Linked DNA regions of Homo sapiens: regions 1, 2, 3, 5, 6 and 7 are each linked to region 4. The links are contacts of gene promoters, found by promoter capture Hi-C in blood cells and fetal thymus (Javierre and others, 2016). All regions are on one chromosome and are shown on one strand. Each heading gives the region's core, a stretch centred on a gene start or on the middle of the fragment in contact. The rest is flanking DNA. Distances are from core to core; before and after follow the strand shown. Region 1 overlaps DDC (dopa decarboxylase). Region 2 overlaps GRB10 (growth factor receptor bound protein 10). Region 3 has its middle 100 kb from the start of IKZF1. Region 4 holds the start of HUS1 (HUS1 checkpoint clamp component). Region 5 holds the start of FIGNL1 (fidgetin like 1). Region 6 overlaps IKZF1 (IKAROS family zinc finger 1). Region 7 has its middle 86 kb from the start of IKZF1.

The links. Contacts are between HindIII fragments. The CHiCAGO score rates a contact against its expected background, and 5 or more counts as called.
Region 1: a contact is called between a fragment that was not itself captured here and the fragment with the promoter of HUS1 in region 4, in 1 of 17 cell types (total CD8 T cells). The highest score is 6.7, in total CD8 T cells.
Region 2: a fragment that was not itself captured here is called in contact with the fragment with the promoter of HUS1 in region 4 in 1 of 17 cell types (total CD4 T cells); the score reaches 7.4 in total CD4 T cells.
Region 3: a contact is called between a fragment that was not itself captured here and the fragment with the promoter of HUS1 in region 4, in 1 of 17 cell types (activated CD4 T cells). The highest score is 6.4, in activated CD4 T cells.
Region 5: the fragment with the promoter of FIGNL1 here is called in contact with the fragment with the promoter of HUS1 in region 4 in 8 of 17 cell types (activated CD4 T cells, total B cells, total CD4 T cells and 5 more); the score reaches 18.2 in activated CD4 T cells.
Region 6: a contact is called between a fragment that was not itself captured here and the fragment with the promoter of HUS1 in region 4, in 3 of 17 cell types (total CD8 T cells, total CD4 T cells and M2 macrophages). The highest score is 10.2, in total CD8 T cells.
Region 7: a fragment that was not itself captured here is called in contact with the fragment with the promoter of HUS1 in region 4 in 1 of 17 cell types (monocytes); the score reaches 5.1 in monocytes.

Annotation. Positions count from the first base shown.
Region 1 is chr7:50,468,018-50,471,482 of GRCh38, reverse strand. DDC (dopa decarboxylase) reads left to right here. Exons shown (of 15, transcript NM_001082971.2): 12 at 1,312-1,410. Among named protein-coding and RNA genes, the nearest start is that of FIGNL1, 19 kb to the right of the region's middle. The HindIII fragment of the contact is 2,131 bases long and covers 733-2,863 here.
Region 2 is chr7:50,627,316-50,631,057 of GRCh38, reverse strand. The region is part of intron 7 of GRB10 (growth factor receptor bound protein 10); the gene reads left to right. Among named protein-coding and RNA genes, the nearest start is that of DDC, 64 kb to the right of the region's middle. The HindIII fragment of the contact is 4,252 bases long and covers 1-3,458 here.
Region 3 is chr7:50,199,913-50,203,721 of GRCh38, reverse strand. No RefSeq gene overlaps it. Among named protein-coding and RNA genes, the nearest start is that of IKZF1, 100 kb to the left of the region's middle. The HindIII fragment of the contact is 272 bases long and covers 1,719-1,990 here.
Region 4 is chr7:47,978,096-47,981,502 of GRCh38, reverse strand. HUS1 (HUS1 checkpoint clamp component) reads left to right here and starts at 1,888. Exons shown (of 8, transcript NM_004507.4): 1 at 1,888-2,035; 2 at 2,687-2,814; 3 at 2,910-3,086. The coding sequence starts at 1,984. RefSeq lists an enhancer at 1,818-2,107 and silencers at 2,178-2,237, 2,318-2,367. The HindIII fragment of the contact is 1,329 bases long and covers 1,383-2,711 here.
Region 5 is chr7:50,449,033-50,452,575 of GRCh38, reverse strand. FIGNL1 (fidgetin like 1) reads left to right here and starts at 2,226. Exons shown (of 4, transcript NM_001287492.4): 1 at 2,226-2,275; 2 at 2,853-3,458. RefSeq lists silencers at 2,080-2,269, 2,411-2,705. The HindIII fragment of the contact is 8,767 bases long and covers 1-3,543 here.
Region 6 is chr7:50,323,101-50,326,990 of GRCh38, reverse strand. The region is part of intron 2 of IKZF1 (IKAROS family zinc finger 1); the gene reads right to left. Among named protein-coding and RNA genes, the nearest start is that of IKZF1, 20 kb to the right of the region's middle. The HindIII fragment of the contact is 3,707 bases long and covers 1-3,672 here.
Region 7 is chr7:50,216,967-50,220,827 of GRCh38, reverse strand. No RefSeq gene overlaps it. Among named protein-coding and RNA genes, the nearest start is that of IKZF1, 86 kb to the left of the region's middle. The HindIII fragment of the contact is 5,453 bases long and covers 1-3,861 here.

The DNA of each region.
Region 1 (3,465 bases), core at 549-3,048, 2.5 Mb before region 4:
GCAGAACCATGGCTCTGGGCCCTTGAGCTACTTCTCTTGTGTTCAGAAGCAGTTGCCACCTGTTCATTCCACCCACACTTTATTTTATTTATTTATTTATTTTGAGATGGAGTCTTACTCTATTGCCCAGGCTTGAGTGCAATAGCGCCATCTTGGCTCACTGCAACCTCCGCCTCCTGGGTCCTGCCTCAGCTTCCCAAGTAGATGGGATTACAGGCATGTGCCACCATACCAGGCTAATTTTTGTATTTTTAGTAGAGAGAGGGTTTCATCATGTTGGTCAGGCTGGTCTCAAACTCCCGACCTCAGGTGATCCACCTGCCTTGGCCTCCCAAAGTGCTGGGGTTACAGGCGTGAGCCACCGCATCCGGCCTTCACCCACACTTTAAAAAACACCTGCAAGCCCTCCTACTGGGGAGCAGTGCGGGACTCAGGACTCCGGCTAAGCAGTCCCACCCGGCAGATGGCCCAGCTGCGCTAGAGTGTCGCGCCTGGCTGCACTGTGTCACCCAGGCCCAGTAGGGAGCTGGCTCAGCTCTCCTCAGTGTCTCCTTTATAGCTGAAATAGAATATGACTGTTAAGATGACCACACAGTGCTGCTATGCTCACTTCCCAGCAGTCTCCTCGTCCCAGTCCTTCCTTACTCACTTCACCACATCTCCATCCCTCAGTGTGTGGGGGCCGGTCAACTGACTGGGTCTGGGAAAACCAGAGGAAGGACAGGGAAAGCTTCTGGAGCACCAGCATGGAGACACACATTGTGTCTTCTGATGAGGGGTCTTGGGGTCACTCCATGGTGATCAGTAGGACCAAGAGGGAACCAGTATTGCTCTAGAAAACAGTGCCAGAACATCTGGGGCAGAAGTGGCAGACAAGAGCAGGTTCTGGCTCCCTCCTTCCTCGTAGGCAAGGACATCAATGAAAATTACCCCCTTATCCCCACTGGATGGTGAGCTCACTGGGGGCAGGGCCGTGTCTTCCCTGTTTGCTCACCACGGAACCCTAGGGGACAGCCCAAGGTCTGGCCCTGCTGTGCATGCCGCAAACACCTGTTGAGTGAAAACAATGAACATCACTGGCTCCCAGGTCAACAGTCCCCATCTGTGTTCCTTTCTCTTGGAGATTTGCAAAGAAAGCCTCTGCCCACATCACCGAGGGCCCTGCCATCCAAGACAGGCCATGGCAATGGGAGCAGGTTGGCCACCAGGGAATCGGCTGCCTCCAAGAGAAATAGGCGAGCCGGTGAGCCGAAAAGGAAGCCAGCTTTTAATATCTTCCTCACTGATGGTCTGTTTCATGTTTCATTTCAGCATTGGCAGATACCACTGGGCAGAAGATTTCGCTCTTTGAAAATGTGGTTTGTATTTAGGATGTATGGAGTCAAAGGACTGCAGGCTTATATCCGCAAGGTGACTTTGTTTTTATTATTTATCACGGTAAAATTGCGGAGGTCTTTCGGGACTTTAGAAATAAATTCAAATTTTTTTTCTTTTTTTTTTTTTGAGACAGAGTTTCACTCTTGTCCCCCAGGCTGGAGTGCAATGGCACAATCTCAGCTCACTGCAACCTCTGCCTCCTGGGTTCAAGCGAATCTCCTGCCTTAGCCTCCTGAGTAGCTAGGATTACAGGCATGCGCCATCATGCCCAGCTAATTTTTGTATTTTAAGTAGAGATTGGGTTTCACCATGTTGGTCAGGCTGATCTTGAACTCCTGGCTTCAGGTGATCCACCCACCTCAGCCTCTCAAAGTGCTGGGATTACAGGTGTGAGCCACTGCACCTGGCCTTCAAATGTCTTAATAAGCAAATACATGGCAAGAGAACCAGACTGTAGTTTGGGTTGTTGAGATGAGGTTATTTATAAGATCTGTTAAGTCACTTTCGTTAAGATTGCAGGTTATCAGGTCCAGGAAGATGGTCACAGTAGAAACATCACATAGGTTGTGCTTTAGCCACATCTAGCCAAGAATGAAGTTCATTGAGCAATGGCAATTATGAGAACATAAGGACTGTGTTTTTCTCCCCCAAAATTGCCAGAATAAGATAGATATTCCCTAGTCCAGTGGTTCTCAGACATGCTTCCAGACCAGCAGTGCCGGCCTGCAGTGGGGCCCAGCAACCTCTGTTTTAACAAGCAAACCAGACACCTTCTCTATGCACTAAAATTTGAGAACCACTTATCAGCTCCAAGCCCCACTCCCCTGCTTTTTTTTTTTTTTTTTTTTTTAAAATAACAATTGGCTGGGTGTGGTGGCTCACGCATGTAATCCCGGCACTTTGGGAGGCCGAGGTGGGCAGATCATGAAGTCAGGAGTTCTAGACCAGCCTGGCCAACATAGTGAAACCTTGTCTCTACTAAAAAAAAAATACAAAAAATTAGCCAGGCATGGTGGCAGGCACCTGTAATCCCAGCTACTCGGGAGGCTGAGGCAGAAGAATCACTTGAACCTGGGAGGCAGAGGTTGCAATGAGCAGAGATTGTGCCACTGCACTAAAGCCTGAGTGACAAAGCAAGACTCCGTCTCACCAAAAAAAAAAAAAAAAAAAAAAATGAGGAAACTGAGTCCTGAATATGAGCCTGGATCTGCCTAGAGCCACCCGTTTAGCCAGCTGCAGAAGGCCTGCTGCTGTTCTGCTGGCTCTCTCTGATCCTGGTGTCCTTCCTAAGCTGTGGCCTCATCTTGATGGACAGAGGTCCCCAGGCTTCATGGGAACAAGCACACTTATGATATTCAGCCTTAGTGATGGTAACAGCCCTCCATTTTAAGTCCTGTTGCCACTTCACAACCAGGTGTGCAGGGGCAGGTGTCCCCAGCCACCTCCTCTGTGGCACAGCATATATAAACACATCCATCTGCAAGCTTCATAGAATGCCTAGGATGTGCCATGAACTGCCTACTCCCAAAGCTTCGGTGAGGACAGTTCCAGGAGCTGCCGAGCACTATGAGGACCTGTTTGGGGGCGAGAACTGGGAAAGGAGTATGTATATGAATTCCTGGGTAGGAAATCCCCCTCTACCCATTTGAGACGAATTCAGCTTTTTTGGGGAAAGAAAGCCAAAAAATAAGGGATTTATCTCCCCACAATGATGACGTCTTTAAGCTCAAGGACAACTAGTTATGATCATGCTGGCTCCTGTTTAAAACACACTCCACTTCTTTCTTAAAGGGGACCCAATCCTGCCTTAGGAGCAGAGTCCAGCGATGCTCAAAGCCTGTCTCCTTGGGCGGGAACCGGCTTTCGGGATCGCCCATGAGGCCGAGGTCTTTGGCGCTCTCTGGTGGCATGACGAGGAACCACTCGTATGACACGTGTTTTTGTCCCAGCCACCCCCTGCCCGCGAGGCGCCGCGTTTCCGCAGGTCCTCCCCAGCACCTGCAACATGGGGGCCCTGCTGTATCCGCGGGCTTAGAATGAGCAAGGCACGGGCCTACGCCACGGAGGGCTCCTTCTCCTAGGATCACA
Region 2 (3,742 bases), core at 83-2,582, 2.7 Mb before region 4:
GACAAAAAACCAGGTGCCCCAGAGTGGAGTTTGGGGCCGTGGAGATATAATGATCTACCTTCAACTCCAATTGTTCTTAAACTTCTTCCTTTAAGTTTGCAAAAAAAATTAAGCTCTTGCTTTTTTGTCTATGCAGTGAATATGTAAAAAGTGACAACAGAAAGTCTGGGAACAGTGGAACCTTCTATTAGCACTTCAGGGCTTTTATAACGGGATTCAGTGCCAAGCCAGCCAGAGGCCTGGGTAGCTTTGCAAACCATTCCTCCCCCAACTAACTCTAAAAAGACAGAGTTTCATGCTGTTGACATAATTATGCCCTCTTTAATATTGCCGTTTTATTTTTAAAAACAATTTGCTATTTAGGGGCTTTTTTGCAGTAGAGAGAAAGAAATTGAGGATTTGAGGGGTGGCTTTTCTGACTGAATTGTTCCTGCTGCATCTTAACTGGTCATGAGGTTTGCTTTCTCAGAACTGAAATCCTGAGTTGGAAGCAGCTTTCAGGGTCCTGCCCCTGCACCCTTCGGTGGTTGTCCACAGGCCTTCAGCTGGAGCCTGCCTTGTTCCCAGATCCACGGTGGATCCAAGCACGTCCCAGGGAGGGCACGTGTCAGGGGCCAGGATCTTTTCAAGAGGGTATCTCATTAATCCATGTCATAGCAACACTATGAGGCTGGTGCTGCTTACAGATTTCCATTTTACAGATGAGGAAACTGAGGCACAGAGAGGCTGGATAGCTCAGCCATGTTCCCACAGCTAGTTACTGATGAAGCATGGTTATGGCCAAGTCTGTTTCTAAGTTCCTCTTTGGAACCACCACCCCAGGCCAAGATAGGTCATAACTAATGTAGAACTTCCATACATTGATTAAGCAGTGTTTTGCTTACATTACTGATTCTCAGAGCAGTTCCCCACAGCTTGGATGAGGAAAGCAAGTCTTAGATTGCTAATTACCTATCCGAGGTCACAAAGCCAGTAGGAGGCTAAGCCGGGATAGAACTCAGATAGAACTTGTGGGTCTCAGCTTCTCACCTTTCCTGGTGTTACCAGATTCTTATATTCCCTAAACAAGTCATACCTTGGAAATTAACTGCCTGTGGTAACAATCTCCGCTCTGAACTGTGAGTTGCTGCGGGACAAGGGCCTTGACCTGCTCGAGAGAACCTTCTAGGCCCACCTCGTGTGAGATGCTTGAACACTGGATGGGCCAGGGAAACCCAGGCCTGCTCCGCAGGAGACCTGAGCCCCCAGCAGTGCTCAGGTGGTTACTAAAGGGGCAGTTGGTGCTGTACAGAATGCTCCTCCTAGAACTGCCAGCTCTAAAAGACTCCGTGGTCAGTGGCTGGCAGTACCCTGTAATAGGAGCCCTCGTACCTCTTGTGTTCCTTACAAACATTCTCATCAGTAGCTCTACGCGTTGACTGGGTGGTTTGAGATGGCTGGTATACACAGGGCTTTCTTGGTGTTCTGTCTCTGGGTCTTAGCTTTGTGTGTGGTTGGAGGGCCCTGGTGAGATTGGAAGTACCAGAGAGTGCTGTGTCAGGGGCAGAGGGGCCTGTCGCTGGAGCTGGAAGGTGCCTGCCTTTGTGTCTGACTCAGTCTCCTGTCTGCCTTGCCCCCTCAGGGTCTCGCCAGCCCAGCCTCTGTGGGAATCTAAAAGGAGTGGATGTGGACGTGTGACCAAGCACATCTCAGCTTTTAATACCCGGGCTATTTATAGACCTTTGGGGGGATGGCTGTGGAACAACAGGGGTTGGGGAGAGAGTTTAAAGAAAAATGCAGCAGGGCTGAAAAAAAAAATGAGAAAACCATTGGCATGGCTGATTTGAACAAGAAAAGTGGCAAAGAGACTTGGAGAGAGATGAGACACACACTTCAACATAATTTCACTTTCCTAGAGAAGATCATGTATCCTCAGTGCAGATAAGCTCATTGAGAGACTCAGGGAAGAAGAGCATTAGGAACCCTGATTTGGGTAGCAGAAGGCATGCACTGGTCCTGAAGACATTCCCTATGATGGTTAGCATATTTATAAAGCATTGTTGGAGCTCAGTTATATTTTCCAAATTCCTGTTTTTCTTTTATGTTAATGCATTTTAATAACATTCCTACCTAGGACCCAGAGACATGTTTTCTTCACTTAAATTGTATTTCTGTAGACTTATTCAGCCATGTCAGCTGTATTTGAATATTTTGCTTGTTAGGGGGAAGTATACTTTCATTGAGTGACACATAAATTCTGGAAAAGAGATGGTGGATTTCTTGAAAAATAAATAAGAGTTGAAAACAAGTCTCTGGGTCCTGATCCAGCCCCAGCCCTGGGATTTCTTTGAGTTGGAGAAGTGGCCCGTAGGTGGCAGGCAGGGGGCAGTGACCCTACCTGAGAGTGCAGGCTCCCCTGGCTGGTCCCCCGTCTGCTGGGAGGCTAACCTGCCCTCACAGAGAAGGGCTCTTCCGCTCTCGCTGAGCCCCGCCTCTACCACCCCCACCACCCCCACCTGGGCACTCAGGCTTGAGTGACATTGACTCCTTCCTGCCCACCGGGTGACAGCTGAGGGTAGCTAGCTGTAGGAGGGTCAAGAGGGTCCCTGTAGAATGGTGTGGTCCCAGTTCCTGATTAAGGTGGGGGCCTCCCAGCCCTTCCCTCTGCTGTCAGACTCCACGCCGGCCACAGAAATCAAAGTTCAGAGCAAGTAAGCACCCCCTTCCAAACACAAGAAAAGGGGCCAGAGAGAGCGGGGAGCCTCGGAGGGAGTTTGTCAGGACAAACTAACATTCTCACCCACCCTGCAGATCCAGCTCCAAAGCTGCCACTGACACATCAGTTGCGGGACAAAGATTATTTGGAGGTTGGCAGATGGGTCTGGATTCAGAGAACGCACGTGTTTCAGCCTCTCAGCTGCCTGTGTGTGATTTCACTGCCATGGGAAAGCATTGAGCGGGGGTTTTTCTGACCAGTTGGTGTGAGAGTTGTGTTGTTGCGGTTGTTGTGGTTGGCGTCCTCACCCCCAAGTCCGGGTCTTGTCGTATGGGAGTGGGAGAGCAAGTCCGTGGGGTGATTGCATCACTGTGGCTGGATTCACTCCCTAAGGGAGCCGGTGCAAGGCAGCCTGGGAGCCCAGCGGGTGGGTGGGTGGCCTCCCTGCTGCCCGGAGACAGCCTGCCCCCCAGGGCACACGCAGGCTCCACACAGCCAGCCTGGGACAGTGGGGAGAGACGGAAACACGCTCCCTTGCAAGAGGCAGTCGCAATTTAAAATGCCATCTTGCTCCTCTGACTGCTTTTTCCGGGCTGTCGAGGTAAGGATTTGTTAAACACACCTCGTGTTCTGGGAAGGGTGCATTGCTGCAGGGTCTTGCCTGGAAGGGATAGACTCCCGTCCTCTGGACTCTACTTCTCCATCCCTTGGCCTGGAGCTGCTCGGTGTTCATGGATTTGAACAGCACCGGGCAAATGAAGCTTGCTTGTAACTTTGTAGGGGTTAGGGGCTAAAGAATCTTGTGACTATGTTTTTATTATGCCCTTCTTTTGTATTAATTCATCTCCACTCCACCCTGAGCCTCAGTGTCTGTGAGGGGTGAGGTGCTGCGGGAAAGGCTGTAGGTGCCGCTGCTGGACCCTGTGCCCTGGGAGAACAGGTCGACTCGTCAAAGGTTATGATGGGAAGAGGGAGATTTACAGGATTTGTTGTTGCTTGCTTGTTTTTTCAATTGGTTCAACTGTAAAATGTCCAACCTGGAGACCA
Region 3 (3,809 bases), core at 605-3,104, 2.2 Mb before region 4:
CTCTGGCCTGGGCAAGCCTCTTGGACAGCAGCCTACAATGCATGGCCAGCCATGCTGAGCTCAGAGAGAGAATCGTACGAGAAAAGTGCAGGCTCCTCACTGACACACAGGATCTCTGTACTAGAGCAGTGCCTGGGGTAAAAGATTAATAGTTGCTTAATAAATTGTTATTGAATGAGTAAATGGAAAAATGCTTGGCCTCAGCCTTGGGAGGTGACTTCTAGCAGGGGGAAGCTCCTACCTCCCTTAGTTTTTCTTCCCCTCATTATCCTCAAGGAAGAGGAGTGCTTTTGTATTGGTCTAGTCCAGGGATATTGATTGGGCCATGTAGTTCTGGTGAGCATTAGACAGAGAGATACAAAATAAACAGGCATTAGGGTGAACACTGTTCTGTGCTTTTGCTCTGGTTCCTGTGTTTTGTATTTGCTTCTCCTTGCTGAACATTTTTCCTGCTACCATCAAAGGAGTAAGGATAATAACAGGGCTAGGCTGAGGAAAACAAAGAAGTAAAGTAGTTTTACTCCTGCTCCCTTCAGTTCAGGCAAGTGGTGTCACTGAAGTGATTCTACGTGGCTTTGAGGCCAACAGTGACACCCAGGGATTTTCTCTTGAGGCTTAGCTTCCCATGGGAAGCTTGCAGGGGTAGGTTGCTGACCCAGGGTCAGATTCAAAATTTAGGAATGCTAAGTGTCAGTCAGTAATCTCTATCTCTTCTATTTTTACTCTTGAAGATGGTGTATGACAGTAGATAGTGTCAGAGGTGAGCATACAAGAGCAGAAGAATGCAATGTGGCTTTGGGGCTCTCCCATCAAGAAGTGGGGTCCATTTCCTGATCCCTGGAGTCTGGACTCAGGAGCAGCCTGTGACTTGCACTGACATCAATGGATAATGAAATGGATGGAGACAGAGTTGTGCAAATTCCAGAAGCTACGCCTTGAGGGCTCTTGCAGATTTTGCTTTTGACCTCTTGAAACTGCCCTGAGACCACTAGGAAGGAATACCTATCTGGTTTTCTGGAGGAAGAGAGTCACATGGAGAAGAACTGAGGCAGCCACCAACTGCCAGACATGTGACCACCAGCTCTGCTGACCCCACAGCTCAAAGAAGCTGCACAGATGAGCTGAGGCCACACTCTTCAGGGAACAATCCGCACAGTCCTGAGAGACAGCAACTCCTTGCTCTTCTGAGCCACTAGGCTTTGGAACAGTTCATTGCCTCTTTTACATGACATACTCTAATTGCATCATCTTGTTCAATGCTCACAACAACCCTGCAAGGTTCTTATTAATTTTCCATTTTACAGATAAGAAAACTGAGCCTCACAGAGTAGATGCAAAACCGTTAAGTGGCAGGACTGGAATTTGCACTCACATCTATGTGGCCCTAAAGGCCACCCTCTCCCCATTTCACTGGCCCATCAAAAACCACAGAGACCAGATAACAAGAGCTTGTCATAGTGCTGACAGCAGAGCTGAGGTCCCAAACTGCAGCATGCTCTGCATTCTTCTGGTCACAGGGCAAAGGCCATCAAAAGGGATCAAGAGAAGACACAGGAGCTTCCAGGATGTCAGAGAAAAAGGATGGGCTTGAACTTCTATTGACTTCATTGAGTCAACACAGGAGTCAAAAACTGTTGTGACTGGGGACTCACACCCTGTCTATTCTTGTTGATCTTTGGACAAACCATTGCAGCAGACAGAAACATTCAAATAAAGCTTAGAAAAGTGAAAAAAGAAAGGGGGGAAGAATACCATAGTAAAAGAAAATAGAAGAGGGAAATGGTGAGGCAAACTTATCACTGGCATCATGATCTATCAGATTATGTGCTCAAAATAAGGTTATGGATTTATTCTTAGTGGAGGGACTGGGGCTCATGGCCTGAGTATCATTCACAAAGAAGCCAGAAAACTCCATGTGTCCACGTGTCCAGGGGCAGGAATGCCCACGCAGGCACTGTATCGCTGCAGCTGAATACCTGCCAGAGAAGCTTTGCTACCCTAAAGCCAAGGCCAGGCCTTCTAAGAATGCGCCACACCAATGAGGTGACATGTCCTGTGATGGCCTAGTATGGTTATGTGCTTTGCCTAGAATCCACGATTGCATTATGATGGAATTTCTGGTATAGAAAAATTGTAATGTTCCAACACTGTTTTTGAAAATAAAGTGCTTCTTCATTAAAAAAAGTTTAATTGTAGTAAACTACACATAGCATAAAACGTACCATTTCAGACAATTTTTAAGCATATAGTTCTGTGGCATTGAGTACATTGACACTGTCATGCAACCATCACCACCAGCCATTTCCAGAACATTTTTATCTTCCTAAATGGAAACTCTGTATTTATTAAACATTTAATCCTCATTCCCACCTCCCGCTATCTCCCGGTAACCACCATTCTACTTTCTCTATGATTTCCAGAACTTTTTCATCTTCCTAAACAGAAACTTTGAATTCATTAAACATTTAGTCCTCATTTCCATCTCCCCCTATCTCCTGGTAACCACCATTCTACTTTCTCTATAAATTAGACTACTCTAGAGACCTTATATAAGAGCAATCAAACAGCACTTATTCATTAATGACTGGCTTATTTCAGTTGGTATAATGTCCTTAGGGTACATTCATGTCATAGCATGTGTCAGAAATTCCTTCTTGTTTAAGGTTGAGTAATATTCCGTATTGTGCATTTACCACAGTTTGTTTATCCATTCATTTATAGATGGAAACATCCACCTTTTGGTGGATGTTATTGTGAATAATGCTGCTATAAACATGGACATACAAATATCTCTTTCAGATCCATTCTTCTGGGCAGATACCGAGAAGCAGACTTGCTGGGTCATATGGTAATTCTATGTTTAATTTTTTTGAGGAACAGCTATACAGTTTTCCATAGCAGCTGTACAATTTTATATTCCCAACCAGGATGATGATTTCTCCACATCCTTGCCAATGCTTTTTTTTTGTGTGTTTTTTCTTTTAACTTTTTTGAATGAGTAGCCATCCTAATGGGTATGGAGCTTCTTCATTTTATAGAATAGGAAACCAAGACATAGCAAATGTTAAAAGTTTCCCCACGGTCACACAGCTAATAAATGGCAGAGCTGAGAATTGTACCAAGGTGATCTAAATCCAAGGAGCAGAATTTTAAAGTTTTTATTTCCAGGTTAATGGTGGACAACCTCAAGCTAAGGGATTTCTGCTAATTGTATGGAATTGCTCATCACTGGGAGGCTTGTTCAGCATACACTGGGGTGAGGAGGAAGACATAAAATACCTCCATCAGTGAGAAGCATTTGGTTCACTCAAAAACAAGTTGAAGACCTGGAACAGATAAAATCAGAATAACTCCTGACCTTTGGTACAAATGCCAAGGGACTCAAATGTGGATAATTTTGGAAGCCAACTGAAGAGTTGAATTATTACTTGTCTCAATGCTTCCTGCTTTCGGTTGGTTCTGGAAATGGAAGTGCCAAGCCCTGCCAGGAAGTCTTCTCTCGTGGTTTTACTGGTCAGGGCTAATTTAGGAAGTGCTGGAAATCTCGTAGAAACCCCTTGGGAAATTTTTACCTTGTTTTCCTACATAAAAAGTTCCACTCAGTTATAAAATCTCAGAGATGACATCTGGCCTCCCCACTGGCTTATCTGAGCTAAACCATGTGTCTTTTCCCAGTGCAATTCAGTATCGGGCAACATAACCTGGGCCACTTGGGCCATTCCAGGAGAGGGGAGACGTTTTGCTAGGCATTCTGTGGGTTCATGCAGGTGCCTTCTTCTCAGTCCACTCACACATTGCCCTATGACATG
Region 4 (3,407 bases), core at 639-3,138:
TTCCTGAGTAGTTGGGATTACAGGCACAAGCTATCACGCCGGGCTAATTTTTGTATTTTTAGTAGAGACGGGGTTTCATCATGTTGGCCAGGCTGATCTCAGACTCCTGACCTCAGATGATCCACCCGCCTCGGCCTCCCAGAATGCTGGGATTACAGGAGAGAGCCATCCTGCCCTGCCTGTTGGCATAACTTTGAAAGTGATCTATTAAGTTTGGTTTGGCAAACACTCGCATATGACAATGAAGATTAGAATTTTGCTTCATGTTATAGTCTTAAAATAGGCAAAAACTGCAATTTTTGTATTTTGCACCTTTTTATTATTATTACACTTTAAGTTCTAGGGTACATGTGCACAACGTGCAGATTTGTTACATAGGTATGCATGTGCCATGTTGGTGTGCTGCACCCATCAACTCATCATTTACATTAGGTATTTCTCCTAACGCTATCCCTCCCCCAGGCCTCCACCCCCCAACAGGCCCCAGTGTGTGATATTCCCCTCCCTGTGTCCATGTGTTCTCATTGTTCAACTCCCACTTATGAGTGAGAACATGCGGTGTTTGGTTTTCTGTCCTTGTGATATTTTGCTGAGAATGATGGTTTCCAGCTTCATCCATGTCCCTGCAAAGGACATGAACTCATCCTTTTTTATGGCTGCATAGTATTCCATGGTGTATATGTGCCACATTTTCCTTATCCAGTCTATTATTGATGGACATTTGGGATGGTTCCAAGTCTTTGCTATTGTGAATAGTGCCACAATAAACATATGTGTGCATGTGTCTTTGAAAATTATCTGGGCCTGGCGCGGTGGCTCACGCCTATAATCCCAGCACTTTGGGAGGCCGAGGTGGGCAGATCACCTGAGGTCAGGAGTTCGAGACCAGCCTGGCCAACATGGCGAAACCCCGTCTCTACTAATAATACAAAAATTAGCCGGGCATGGTAGCTTGTGCCTGTAATCCCAACTACTTGGGAAGCTGAGGCAGGAGAATCCCTCGAACCCGGGAGGTGGAGGTTGCAGTGGGCCAAGATCACGCCATTGCACTCCAGCCAGGGCGACAGAGCCAGACTCCGTCTCAAAATCATCATCATCATCATCTGCATTATCATTATCTTGATTCTATGTGTCAAGTTAAAGACAAGGTTCTAGTCTATTTGCAAAGGACATTAAAAATAACAATTGTTAACACAGATAATCTTTAGTCTTTGAAAAACCAAATTAGATACAATTGTTGCTTCATTTCCCCCTTTAAAATTTTTCCTTTAAAAAAAATCCTAATGACATTATTTATGCTAATAAGAATTTTATCGGATGTAATAAAGTTCGTCTTGAGGCAAACTGCAGAATTATCACTTAACGTCAGTGTTCTTTAAGCTTCCCGACTTTACCAACTAGCCAGTAATATGTTCAATTTTTTTAGAAGTCATTTGAAACAATTTTCAGAACCTTAATCCACCAAGATGCTTCAATACCAAAGTACCAGTACCGTCATCTGAGGCTGGAGGGTTTAAAGCTGCTCTACCTTAGGTATATTTAAGATAATATTGTTTAACCTTTATAAACGATTAATTTTATTTGGATATTTTAAAATAACACTTGAAATAGGTGTCACAAAATTCTTTCAAAACGTGAATTCTCAGAACAACCTCCCCGAATCTGGGGCTTGAAGCCTCCGCCTCACTAAAAGTAGATCCCACCATTACCCGGCAGCGCGGAGGCATACCCGGAGACTGGGACCCCCACCTCCCCCGGGGCGTGACCTGTGATCCTTGACCCGTGACCCCACCTCCTCTAGGGCGTGACCCCCTAGCCCCACCTCCTCCGGGGCGTGGCCCGGAGATAACCCTGGTAAGAGTCGCGTAGCCCGAGCCGGGCGGAACCACTGTTCGCGCTGCCGTGTTTCCGGGCGGGGACACTCAGGGCGCGACGCTTTTCTGTTACCCACAGAGGCCCGCCGCGGCTGCGCCATCCGCGGCCATGAAGTTTCGGGCCAAGATCGTGGACGGGGCCTGTCTGAACCACTTCACACGTGAGCAGGGAGGCCGGAGAGGAGCGAGGGAGGAACGGAAGGAAGCAGTGAGCGCGCGGTGGGGACCGCGCAGGAGGATCAGAACGGGGATGGGCGCCGGAAGGGGCCGCGGGAGGATGGGGCCGGGATGGGGGTGCTGGTGTAGGCCGCGGGAGGGTGGGGCCGGGAGGGCGCGGGGCGGGTCGGAGGGCACTTGTGGGGATGAAGGCGGCTTTCAAGGGACGTTTCTGAAACTTGATTCCGATCACGTGGCTTTAAAAAAAAGCGGCCACTGCTCCCATAGACGGCTTTATCAGGCATTGACATACCTTCAAGGCCCCATTCGTCCCTCCACCCTGACAGTGCCTAACCTTGCATTTAACTGTGTATTGCAGTACCTAGTAGTCAATAAATCCATGTTGAATGAATGAATGACTGGTAGGTGCCTGTTTTCTTATTTGAACACTGATGATGTGTGCTGTACATCTCCCCTAGTTTGTTGGGAGAATTGCGTGACATCAGGGGTATTAAAGTACTTTCCAGTGTGATACCAACGTTAAGTGGTTATTTTTCCACCGAGAAGTTGATGAACAAGAAATTCTGCAAAATAAGTTGGTCTCTAGGATACATAATGTGCATTTTAGTAATTCCTTATTTTAACCCCTGCTTTAGGAATCAGTAACATGATAGCCAAGCTTGCCAAAACCTGCACCCTCCGCATCAGCCCTGATAAGCTTAACTTCATCCTTTGTGACAAGCTGGCTAATGGAGGAGTGAGCATGTGGTGTGAGCTGGAACAGGTGAGCAAAAGCTTCTGAGAGGCCTGCACACTCTGCAGATTGTCACTGGAAAGATCACATATACCCTCCCTCATCCCTCATTTTTTTTCCCTTAGGAGAACTTCTTCAACGAATTTCAAATGGAGGGTGTCTCTGCAGAAAACAATGAGATTTATTTAGAGCTAACATCGGAAAACTTATCTCGAGCCTTGAAGACTGCCCAGAATGCCAGGGCTTTGAAAATCAAACTGACTAATAAACACTTTCCCTGCCTCACGGTCTCCGTGGAGCTGGTGAGTAGGAGAGTCAGGGTTTCTAACACAGAAGTCTTGGCCTCGAAGGAATAGACATAGTTAGCCTAGCCTTTTTAACAATAAATACTGTTGAAAGCTGTTTGGTTTATTTAAATTTAAAGATCTGGTCCATAACTATATTTTGCATTAGAGTCAGTTCCTCCTCATTTTAAAATTGTGTTGTTATCATATGCATTCAGCTAGAATGCTGCTTTTTCCAAGCCGTGAAACTTCCAGCCTCTCTGTTTCTTGTAGTGGTATTGTCACCTTGTCTAGAAATCATGGTTTCTCTATCCATTTTCACCTTTGACATGTTTTCTC
Region 5 (3,543 bases), core at 977-3,476, 2.5 Mb before region 4:
GGCAAGAGGGCTAGAAAGTTCTTTGGAGTCTCTTTTATTGTATTTTATTTTTTGGAGACAGTCTCACTCCGTCCCCCAGGCTGGAGTGCAGTGGCGCGATCTCAGTTCACTGCAACCTCCACCTCCTGGGTTCAAGCAATTCTCAGGCCTCAGCCTCCTAAGTAGCTGGGATTACAGGTGCCCACCACAACACCTGGCTAATTTTTGTATTTTTAGTAGAGACAGGGTTTTGCCATGTTGGCCAGGCTGGTCTCGAACTCCTGACCCCAGGCGATCCACCTGCCTCGGCCTCCCAAAGTGCTGGGATTACAGGCATGAGACACTGCACCCAGCCTCTGGAGTCTCTTTTATAAGGATACTTACTATTCTCATCCATGAAGTCTCCACTCTCATGACCTAATCACCTCACAAAGGCCCCGCCCCTTAAAACCATCACATTGGGCTTAGGATTTCAACATACAAATTTTGGGGGGACATAAACTTTCCATCCCTAACATTACCCAAATAGTATCTATATAGTCATTTCTAAATATACACGTATTTAGAAATTTCTAAATAGCCAGTAAACATACAACTGACTTGGCCTTGATATAACTGTTTTCATTTTCTTTTATTTTCATTCTACATGACATATTTTGGGTAATTATAAAATAATTAAAATTAGTTGATAAAGTATGGAATTAGAATAAAATAATTTTCTATTACTATCTAAGCCATGAAATGAATTAGGAGATGCTGTTTTCAGTGAAACGTCTTCTAGTTTTTAAAGTGCATTGTCCAATTCCTTTTTATTTTGTGAAGATTTTAAAAACTTAAAAAAAGTCTTCAAATTGTTTGTGCCTTGCATTTCTTTAAATCTTATGTTTAAACATCATGTGCTGCTAGTTGCTAGTCATTTTCTCTATCCCCTGCCCCAGACCCTCTCTTTCTCAGGAAAGGATATCCAGGGATCCGGGTCCCAGTTAGTCAAGGAGATATAAGAGGAAGGCTATGAGGCTTTCTGGGAAACATTTTCTTTTTCCAAGAGAGAAGTGTTCAGAGGGAAAAGGTCCTTTCTCAGTTTGGCTCCCTCTTTGTGTTTTAGATCTGGTCATGTGAGGCTGCCTGGCTTGGATTGTGAGGGCATCTCTCGACAATGAAGTGACAAGCCTGGGGAGGAAAATCCACAGGCGAGAAGGTGGCAGAATGGAGAGATGGTCCTTCATGACTTCTTTGAGTCACCAGGTCCAGATTTCCCGCCAACCTCCAGTCTTCTTGTTATGTGATCTGATATCATTATTTACTGCAGAGGCCACTGAGTGGATGCTCTTACTTGTGTCTGAAAATCCAATTCACTAAATTAATCAAAATACGGCACTCTTCTTTTGAAACCTTGCTCCAGAACAAAGTGGAAGGTAATGATGGGGTGCTTTTCAAAGTTCCAGGGAGGTGTCCCTACACAGCAGACAGCTGTCCAAAGGAATGTAGATGTTGGCTGCGGGGAGATCTGAGTTGCCAGACTCAGTCAGAACAGGTGTCCTCTCCCTTATTTTATCTTAAACATGCATGTCATTTTTGCATGCTACTCTATGCGGTTCTTTCAGCCAGGGAACATTGCTGAGCACCCGCTCACGTGCTGTATGGAGCGCAGACTGCAGGGTGCGAGGGGCGGAGGTGATGTGCTAGGCCTGAATTCAAGAGGGGGCGCAGCCACAGGCCCCGCGATGCCGGGGTGGCCTCTTGTAACGACGTTTTAACCGCTGACCTAAGTGGATCCGCTCCTCTCCCGCCGCCCGCTCCCTGCCTGCAGCACAGGATGGCGGCTGGCTTTCCCGAGTGGGCGCAGGTGAGCCACGCTTGCTCTCCCGGGTGGGCGCAGGTGAGCCATTGTTTGCTCTCCCGGGTGGGCGCAGGAGAGCCACGCTTTGCTCTCCCAGGTGAGCCGCCGCTCGCTGTCCCGGTGAGGGGAAGTGAGCCACGCTCTATGGGAATCCTTCGAATCTTCATTCAATTTCCATCGCCTCCTTGTATTTATTTGGGAGTACTTTTAAAAATGAAGCCTATGCACAATGATGTAATAAGCGTTTATAGAACACCACTGGTCGGAGCTAGGGCCTAGGTGGCGGTGCCCGGGCCCAGGTGCCGCGCCCACGCCCCGCGCGCCGAACGCACGCACGCACGCACTCACGCACTCACGCACGCACGTACGGCGCGAGTCCGAGGGCGACAGCAGCGCGCAGGCGCACGTCAGTCCCCGCGCTTTTCGGAGGCTGCCAGCGTCCCACACCAGCCGCAGGTAGGATGCGGTGACGGGAGGCGGGGCAGGGGCGCTGCTGACCCCTGTGGAGCATCAGGGTTGGGGCGTAGGGGAGAGGCGGGCGTGTGCCTCTGGAATGCTGGGGGTCGCGGGGCGGTGACTTCGCGGGAGGCCGTGGGAGGCGGGAGCCAGGCAGTGGCTGTGCCCTTTTGCTTCTGTCTTAGCGGGAGGGTGGCTGACCCGCTAGCCCAGAACCAGACTCATCCAGGATTAGGAAGCTGGGGCCCGGCGTGGACGGCAGGCTCGGGGCCAGGTCTGCGGGCGGCTTCCTTTGGCAGAGCCTGTCCGGGGGCGGGGCCGCTTACCGCAGGCATTTACTGGGCCCAGCGGGGCTCTGGGCGCCCACAGCGGGGGTCAGTCAGTTCCCCTGTGACCCAGGCAAGCTCTTAATCTCTGTGATGAGAAAGAAGGGCTCATACCTTTCAGGGGTCATCGTGAGGAATCAGAAGAAGCAGTATTTTATAGAGTATTTTCTAAGTGCTGAGTCCTCTGTCTAGTGCTTTGCAGAATTAAAATACCTTGTCAGCTCAGTGATGTTGCTGCGCTTCTTTTATAGGTGAAAACCGGCAGAAAGACATTAAGAGATTTTCCTGCAGTCACTGCTGGCAGATGATAGAGCCAGGATTTGAAAGCAGGCAGCCTGGCTCCAGACCCTGTGCTCTTAACTCCCGTTTTGCATCAAGAACAGAATCCTATGAAAGGCTTGCACAGTGCTTGGTACTGAGTAGGCACTCCGTCAGTATTTTAGTAGCTATTATTCCAAAGGACACTGTATTCTAGGTACTAAGACAATGTGAATGGAATGGAAAACAATTCCTCCCTGCAGAAGCCAACTGTCTAGGAAGACAGATAATGACATTATTAAAATAATCAGAACATTGGCAAAATAAAGAAGATTGAAATGCAGTTCATATGACAGTGCTAATTAATCATACTTTTTAGATCTAGGAAAGGCCATAAAGGTTAAATTGACTTGGAAATGGTAAACAAGACAATGGTTGTGTCACTGATCGGTGATGGCCAGTTTTTGGTTATCCTTATTTGCCATTTAAATGATTGAATTGAAAGGAAGAAGTAAGACTTGGAAGATGAATATTGAAGGAAAGGTGAAGATGGAAAAGAGAAGGGGGTTTATTCTGAGAACAGTGACTAGAACTCTGAGGTATGGTAGAAATTTCAGGATAACAGATGATAAAGGGGAATGAAGCCATGGAGAGGAAGAGAATGATAATATTAATTGTGAAAGT
Region 6 (3,890 bases), core at 570-3,069, 2.3 Mb before region 4:
CACACCCTCCTGTCAATTTGTGTTTGAGGATACCACACCAGGTATTCTGCTTAGAGCTATACATTCTGCCATCTGCTCACTTTCTTTGCAAGAACCAGGGAATATCTTACCAGCTGCTTAGTTTGACTTAACTTAGTGGGGAAAAGAAGACTGGACAAGGAATGGAAGGGAACCCCATGCCTACTGGGAAAATGATCCCCTCTCCGCATGCAAAGGGAGTCTGCTAATACAAATTCTTCTCTTTGAAATAGGAAAATAAAATATAATCCACACAAATACAAAAATTGCTTATACTATACAAAGTAGGATTTACAAAATGAAATCGGGTTTTACAGAATACCTGTATTTATTTTGACTGGATTAGAATTATATTTGACCAAAGGTTCTAGCATTGGGGAATCACTCCTACTCTGAGGAATCTAACCTTCCTTGGGAAGCCATAACTAGTAGGAAATGCTCTTTTCTCCACTGAAGCTGCAACTCCTATAGTTTCCGCCCTTCCAAATCTAACTTAAACTTGAGTTGAGACACAACCCACATGCAAGAAACAGATGATGTGAACTTATGCAGTATAGCTACGTGTGGAAGACCATTTTAGATGAAGGTCCTGAAGAAGTCTAACAAAACAGCAACAGCCTGGGAGAGTGTGCCTGCTGACTGAGCTGGCAACAGGCAAAATGATATGAACACATAGACAAACCTAGATTTTTGAGAGTGTGTGCAAATGATGAACCAAACATTAAAATGTCTGAAAAACATGACTAGGTATTGTGTGAAATGTCCTTGTTTGTTTGAATAAACCTTCCACAAGAGTAATACCAGCATTTCAGACGACTGGCAAGACCAGTAAAATCATCCTCAGTATATAAAACAACCCTTCCTGGAATATTTAAAATAGAACCTGCACAGGCACCAAGCCTATGCTCTGGGGAATACTACTTCATTCTCTGGAAAACAGACATCACAATTTAATATTCCAGCTTAGCTGTAATTACCACAATTGGCATATTTTCAGAAAGAGCATTATTGGGTATATTTGGATAGCCAATACAAAATGAATAGTTAAAGACGGAGCAGGATTATAAGAATTTCCCAAGGAAAAACAAAAGGCCAGAGAGACATTGAGTGAAAGTGTTCATGTTATGCTAAAGCCTTGGCAATGTGCATTAAGTCACTACTATTTTCACTGCTGTAAATAGAATTTTTTTTTTTTTTCGAGACAGAGTCTTGCTCTGTCACCCAGGCTGGAGTGCAGTGGCGCGATCTTGGCTCACTGCAAGCTCGGCCTCCCAGGTTCAAGCCATTCTCCTGTCTCAGCCTCCCGAGTAGCTGGGACCACAGGTATCCCCCACCATGCCCAACTAAATTTTTGTATTTTTTTAGTAGAGACAGGGTTTCACCGTGTTAGCCAAGATGGTCTCGATCTCCTGACCTCGTGATCTGCCTGCCTTGGCCTCCCAAGCGCTGGGATTACAGGCATGAGCCACTGCGCCCGGCCTATAAATAGAAAATGTTTAAAGTAATAATTGCTAAATATCTTAGCGTTTTCACCTCTTTCATAAATGGGGAAAAACTCCAAATAGGAGAACGCAGGAGGTATATGAACCACCTCACAACTCTTATTTTTGTATAAGATGACTTCCTAGAGCAATGGTGTTCAAACTCCCAGGACTTTATGAAGGTTGTCAGAGGAATTTTTTTTTTTTTTTTTTGGTGGCAGCGGGGGGTTGGGGGGTGGGTGTGGGGGTAAGAATAACAAAATAATCTTACACAGAACTGTAATATACACATAGGTCTCCTACATAAAGCAGGGAGCTTGCAATTTGGGGAGGCAGGGACCCAGGCCACTTGCCTTCTTGAAGACCTGCTAAAGTACCTTCATAGAAATGACCATGGAGCCTTCTGGCCTGACATGCTATCCCAATGAGTAAACATGTACAGGGCGTGTGGGGTGTGCACGCGTCTCATGATTAACCAGCTGTCATTATTATGGGGTGGAGGTGGGAGGTTGAGAAACTAAACTTTATTGACTCTTTTCCTCCTATAGCTTTTCCCTGCGATCATGCTGGAGCACTGCAGGATGCTCTGAGACACCCTTAGATGCATGGGGCCCTGGAACCAAGTGAGGATCATAAAGAATCAGGACTTACCCAATGAAGAAATGTCGTACTTTCCGCTCAGTGCATGCTAAAATACATCCAAATAACTCTTAGTTACTTTTATTAAAAAATTTAACTGCTGTATCTATGAGAAAACAAGATCCACTACAATTTGTTGAGGATGGTTCATAATAACAGGTACGCTTCTTAAGAATTACATCTGCCTTCAGTTCCTGCACTGAACTAAATGTCAGTGCTCCAGTGTCCCTGATCTTGCATCTCAGGACATTTATTTTTTTCAACATGGGGGAGAAAAAGGAATAATGAAACAGTAGGGATCGCAATTCTAAAATACCATGGGTCAGACTGATCAATAGGAACTCTCTATGCAGAAGAAACCACATGGGGAGAAGGGAGAATAAAAAATCAGTCTTGGTATGTACAGGGGCATCTAGTAAAGAGTCAGAACTGGATGGTAGTGAAGTGAGATATATTCACATGCCCACCAAGGGCCCTGTGTTAATTCAAGCTCGCCTTGCCTGAACTCAGTGATAGTTCTTAAGAGGTTGTCTGATTTGCCTAAAAGCCCCAAAGTGTAAGTCCGGGCTGCTGAGACTTTCATCCCTCACGTGAGCCTCTGTACCCAGGGCCCCTCATCTTCTGTGACAGCTGAGGATCTCCATGATGAAAAGTTATCACTTCATGAAACCCATCATGATAGGCACAGTATTTTTATGCACTGATTTTAAACCAATTTGCCTGGTTAACCATTTAAAATGTAAAAGTATGCAAGGATTATAAAACACTAAAAAATAAATGACTAAATCAAGCCAACAGGCATCTCAAATACTAACACACAGTGACTAGGAGTTAGTGACCCAGGACATAGTTCTGGCTTTCTGGCTTGACCAATTAGTTGTAAGACGAATGGGAACATGAGACTGGTCCCTTTTTTAAGACTCCTTTCCTCAAGTGGAAAAAGGAGGCTGAAAAGCATGATTTTGGTCTATCCCACAGGGTTGCGGTGAAGATAAAATAAAAATAATGTGCATGGATTCTAATATGCTAAGTAAACTTATGGTATTATTTGGTAAACTATATGCACATAGAAACATAAGGTATATATTGCGTCAAGCTCCCACACTTTTCCTAAGAACATGTACAATGACATGCAAACACACAGAGACGGAGACAGCAAGACATCAAGTGTTTAAATAGAATAATTTAGAAGATGCAATACAATTTCACTTATTTAGAAAAATGAAATAAACTTCTGGTTAAATTATAAAAATACACATTTACACTTAACTTACCTATGGCCTATGTTTCAAATAAAGCATTACCTATGAGAAGTGTTCTGGGAAAACTGGATGAGATATGGTATAATTAGCTTATAAAATGTAAGCAAATAATTTCTCAAGTAGATTATAATTCACTCAACAAAGTTCTGTCATCCCGCCTCTCCTAAATGCATGAGGTTTTATTATACACAATTGCCCAAGAGGATATAATTCTCTGGGTAAATACAAGCTCAAAATATAGAATCTCAACTCTATAAAGTAGTGGAGAAGCTTCCACTCTAGGGTCCAAGTGGGGATCACACCCCAGAGCAATCTCTGACTCCCTGTTGGACTTCCGGTCAGTTGCTTAAATTCTCTGTGTCTCAGCTCCCTGCAGGTTGGAAATGATAACTGTATTTTCTTCTGTGGGTCCTTGTGAGGTTGAAAGGAGAAAACACTTTGGGTAATGTTTGGTAAATACAAAGCATTTAATCAATGTGATTTACTATGC
Region 7 (3,861 bases), core at 327-2,826, 2.2 Mb before region 4:
GGTGGTGATGGGATCCCAGTGGTAGATGGAGTGTAGACCCTGAGCATATTGGCTAAATGATGCCAAGCAGTATGGAACCACTTAAAAAAATGGTTCTTGGAGCCTTGCCACCTGGTAGGGTGTTCAGAAGCTGGACTTCAATATTGAAAGCAAGGCATTTGGAGGACTAAATGGAGACAGAAAAGGGCACTTAAAGTCCTTTCCATAGACTAGGGCATGCACAGGACAGGGAGAGTTGGTAATTGAGGCACAGAACAGGAGCTCCCTGGTTAGCCACGTAATAAGAGTGATGATATTAGGTTCTGCCTGTTGAATAGAGAGAAGGGGATGGTTGCAAAAGTTTAAGTAATTGCAACCTCAGTCAAAACAGATTCAGGAACTAACTGTGGGAGAGGCAGTGAGCATGTGGGTATGGGTGATCCCTTAACTGAATTGTAAGAAAGTAGTGGGAGAGATCCAGGGTGAGGAGGTTACAGTGCCATGCCAGGAAAGGAGACCTGCTGATTGGGCCACTCGGTAGTTAGGTGAGTAAGCCAGGTCAAGGGCTTACAATTTTTCAGAATAGAGAGGATCAATTTTGTAAGGGCATCTTGAAGTGATCACATTCTCAGAAACAAGCCCATGGTAGTCAAACTCACATGATGCCAAATTATAATCCAAAAATAATCCTTTTGTGAATTTACCATAAGAATCATTTCTTTCTATTGATATTGACATATGTGACCCAGGGTACCACTTCCAAATCAGTAACTATTAGGATATGATTGGAGCACAGGATGGTGAAAACTCCCAGAACACTTCTAGGTACTATTCAGGTCTCTTTAATGCCAGTGTGGGCCCAGTCCCAAATTTGACAAGCATCACTCATGGCTTTCTTCTCCTCCCTTTTCTAATTCAGATTCTTTCTACCACCACCCTCTCCTCAGGTCTGTCTCTATCATTGATGGCACTACTCTTTCTTCATTTGATTTATGTGTGGTCTTATTCTCTCTTGCTTTGATTTAGGAGATACTGCTTTTCTAAAGACCACCACAGAATGCCACTTTCTGCATTGCTTGAAAATTCTGGTAACTGAACTTAGAAGCTCATCTTAGGTGTAAGAACAAACTCTTTTAACTTCTCTCTGTGGGCCAAACAGGCAAAATGAGACAGCCTGTGTCCTTCCAACATTTTAGATCCTTAGTCATTCTGATGAATGAGTGGATGGAGAGATGGACGAAGAGCTCACAAACTCAGAAACAACCAGAGGTGTAACATCTACTAGTCTTTTTGTCTTTCATGAAATCTCACCTTCTCATTATTTTCCTTATCTGTTTGATTATCACAATTGAGCACTTATTCCTAAGCACTATTGCTTATTATGCCTCTTAGGGTTTCTACTCCAGAGACACACAGCCTCTTCCTGACCTGGGAATGTACCACCACTTGGTGCTGAATTGTGACCCCAAAGTGCTCAAGGACCCTCCCCAGGAAGGCAGAACACATGCTTAAACCTGGGACTCTTGAGAAAATGCACATTCTGATTCTGTACATCTGAAGTGGGGCACGAGGATCTGATTTCTACCAAGTTTCCAGGTGGCACAGGTGCCACTTGTTCCTGGACCTTGAGTAACAAGGCCCAAGTGGTAAAATCAAGGGCTTGGAGCTTAACTCTCCTGAGTTGGAATCCCATTTTCCTCCATTATCAGCTTCATGACCTTAGACAAATTCTTCAACTTCTCTGAGCCTCAGTTTTGTTTCTGAGCATGGGGTTGCCACTTGGTTGCCAGGTTCTTGTGAGGATGGAGGTCACGTATGTTCAGTGCCTCTGCCAGTGTGTGCCACCTACAGCCCTCACAAGGCCCTTCCCTTCAAGCCCCATCTGAGTCCCTCCTCCACCCAACGTCTGGCTTCTCTATCTGGAGGATCCTGGAAGGACAAGATACAGCTGTTCCCAGGGCCTTTTCTAAGGCATGCAGTCTGCTCTGGGGCCAAGTAGCCCTGTGGTGTGGTTGCAGCCCCTGTTTCCACCAGGAGTCACCCTTCCTCTGGACTGCAGCTCCCAACCCCTGGGATCTTCCTGAGCTTTGGAGTTATGGGCATATCTGGCTTAGACTCTCATCTTCTACTGGCACTGTGGAAAGGTGCTCATTTTTTTTTTTTTTGAGACGAAGTTTCGCTCTTGTTGCCCAGGCTGGAGTGCAATGGCACGATCTCAGCTCACCTCAACCTCTACCTCCTGGGTTCAAGCGATTATCCTGTCTCAACCTCCTGAATAGCTGGAATTACAGGCATGCACCACCACGCCCTGCTAATTTGGTATTTTTAGTAGAGATGGGGTTTCTCCATGTTGGTCAGGCTGCTCTCGAACTCCTGACCTCAGGTGATCCACCTGCCTCGGCCTCTCAAAGTGCTGGGATTACAGGCGCTAGCCACTGCACCTGGCAGGTGCTCACCTTTATGTCATCAGCCAGGGAGAGCAGGTAAGTCAGTACCTTTCCCCCACCTCAGCACGGCTGCTAGCTGGAGAGGATGAAGAAGCCTTACTTCTAAATAAAATGAGGTTTATATTTGTTTGGGGAGCACGTTTCTCTCTTGTGGTGATCTGTCCCTCAGAAATTGGTTACTGGCCTGCATTTTCCCAAAGGCCTGGTAGCCTGATTTCAACCTGAGAAGTGGTTCCTCTTTGGCATTTAAAGACCACTTCAGTTTCCGTTGCCATGTGAGATGTGCAATCCCAGATTGCTGAGCAGGGCTTTGGCCACAGGCTTCCTGCCTGCAAAGGAGAGCCTGGCTTTTTACTTGAAAGACAGCAGGAGGCTCTTGTGTAGAGAGCAAGGGGAAATCATTAAGTTGTCCATGATTACCAAAGGATATGTAAGAAATATGTTCTCTAAAGTGGAAATTGCTACCCTTGGGTAACAGGAAAAGGCTGACCATTACATTATAAGTAGGAAATGGGAGATAATGAAATCGATGCCAAGCACACAGTGCAACCTCGATAAGGGAGTTTGCATCACAGCCCTCCCAATTCATTTTCACAGATGGTTCTTCTCTCGGGCATTTAAACTTTGTCTCTAATATTAATCAGTGAAATGAAAAAAGAGATTTGCCCAGTTGTGGTTATTGTTATTGGAGACTAATACCAATAAACTGGTAGTAAAATATCCCCACAATATCCTCTAACATTGGAAACAACCTCAAGGGATGAAAGCTGACTTGTGAATTCCCCCGCCCTCTGAAATGCTGCTGGTTCTAAGGTCTTGTGGAAATCAGAGAGAAGTCATTTCATTTAAGTCTTAATGGACTTGAGCTTTAAACAGTCGGTGTACACAGCCTCAGCATGTCAGGAGAGGCCATAGGTAAAGTCTGTAAAAGAGATTTGGCACACCGAATGATTCACCCAGTATATTAGGTAGACAGTTGTAATGCAGGCTCCTTCCATATATGACTCTATTCACAGAAGGTCTTGATCCTCAGTGATCGTTATTATAGAATTATAATGCCAGCAAGTACCCAGAGACCACCTCCTCATATCACAGGTCCAGGCTGCTCCTTGGCCTAGCAAGACACAGTCCACAAGTTAGGAGCCAAGCTGGGACAAAGACTCCCAACCCCCGTCCCAGAAGGAGTGCCATACAGACCCCCACAGCCCAGCCCTACCCGACCCACCCTCTGCTCTCATGACAGTTGTAATGTGAGGCCACCAAGGTGCCCAGTTCCCCTAGGGGTTGGGGAGGCCTTCACAGTCGGGTCTGTGGGACTGATGACTTCTGGAATCTTGCACCCATGGCCCACCATGCTGCCTGTGCTTGGAAATGGCTGTACTCTAACCTAATATACACACAAGAAAATCAAAGGTATCCTCAAAGCATGATAAAA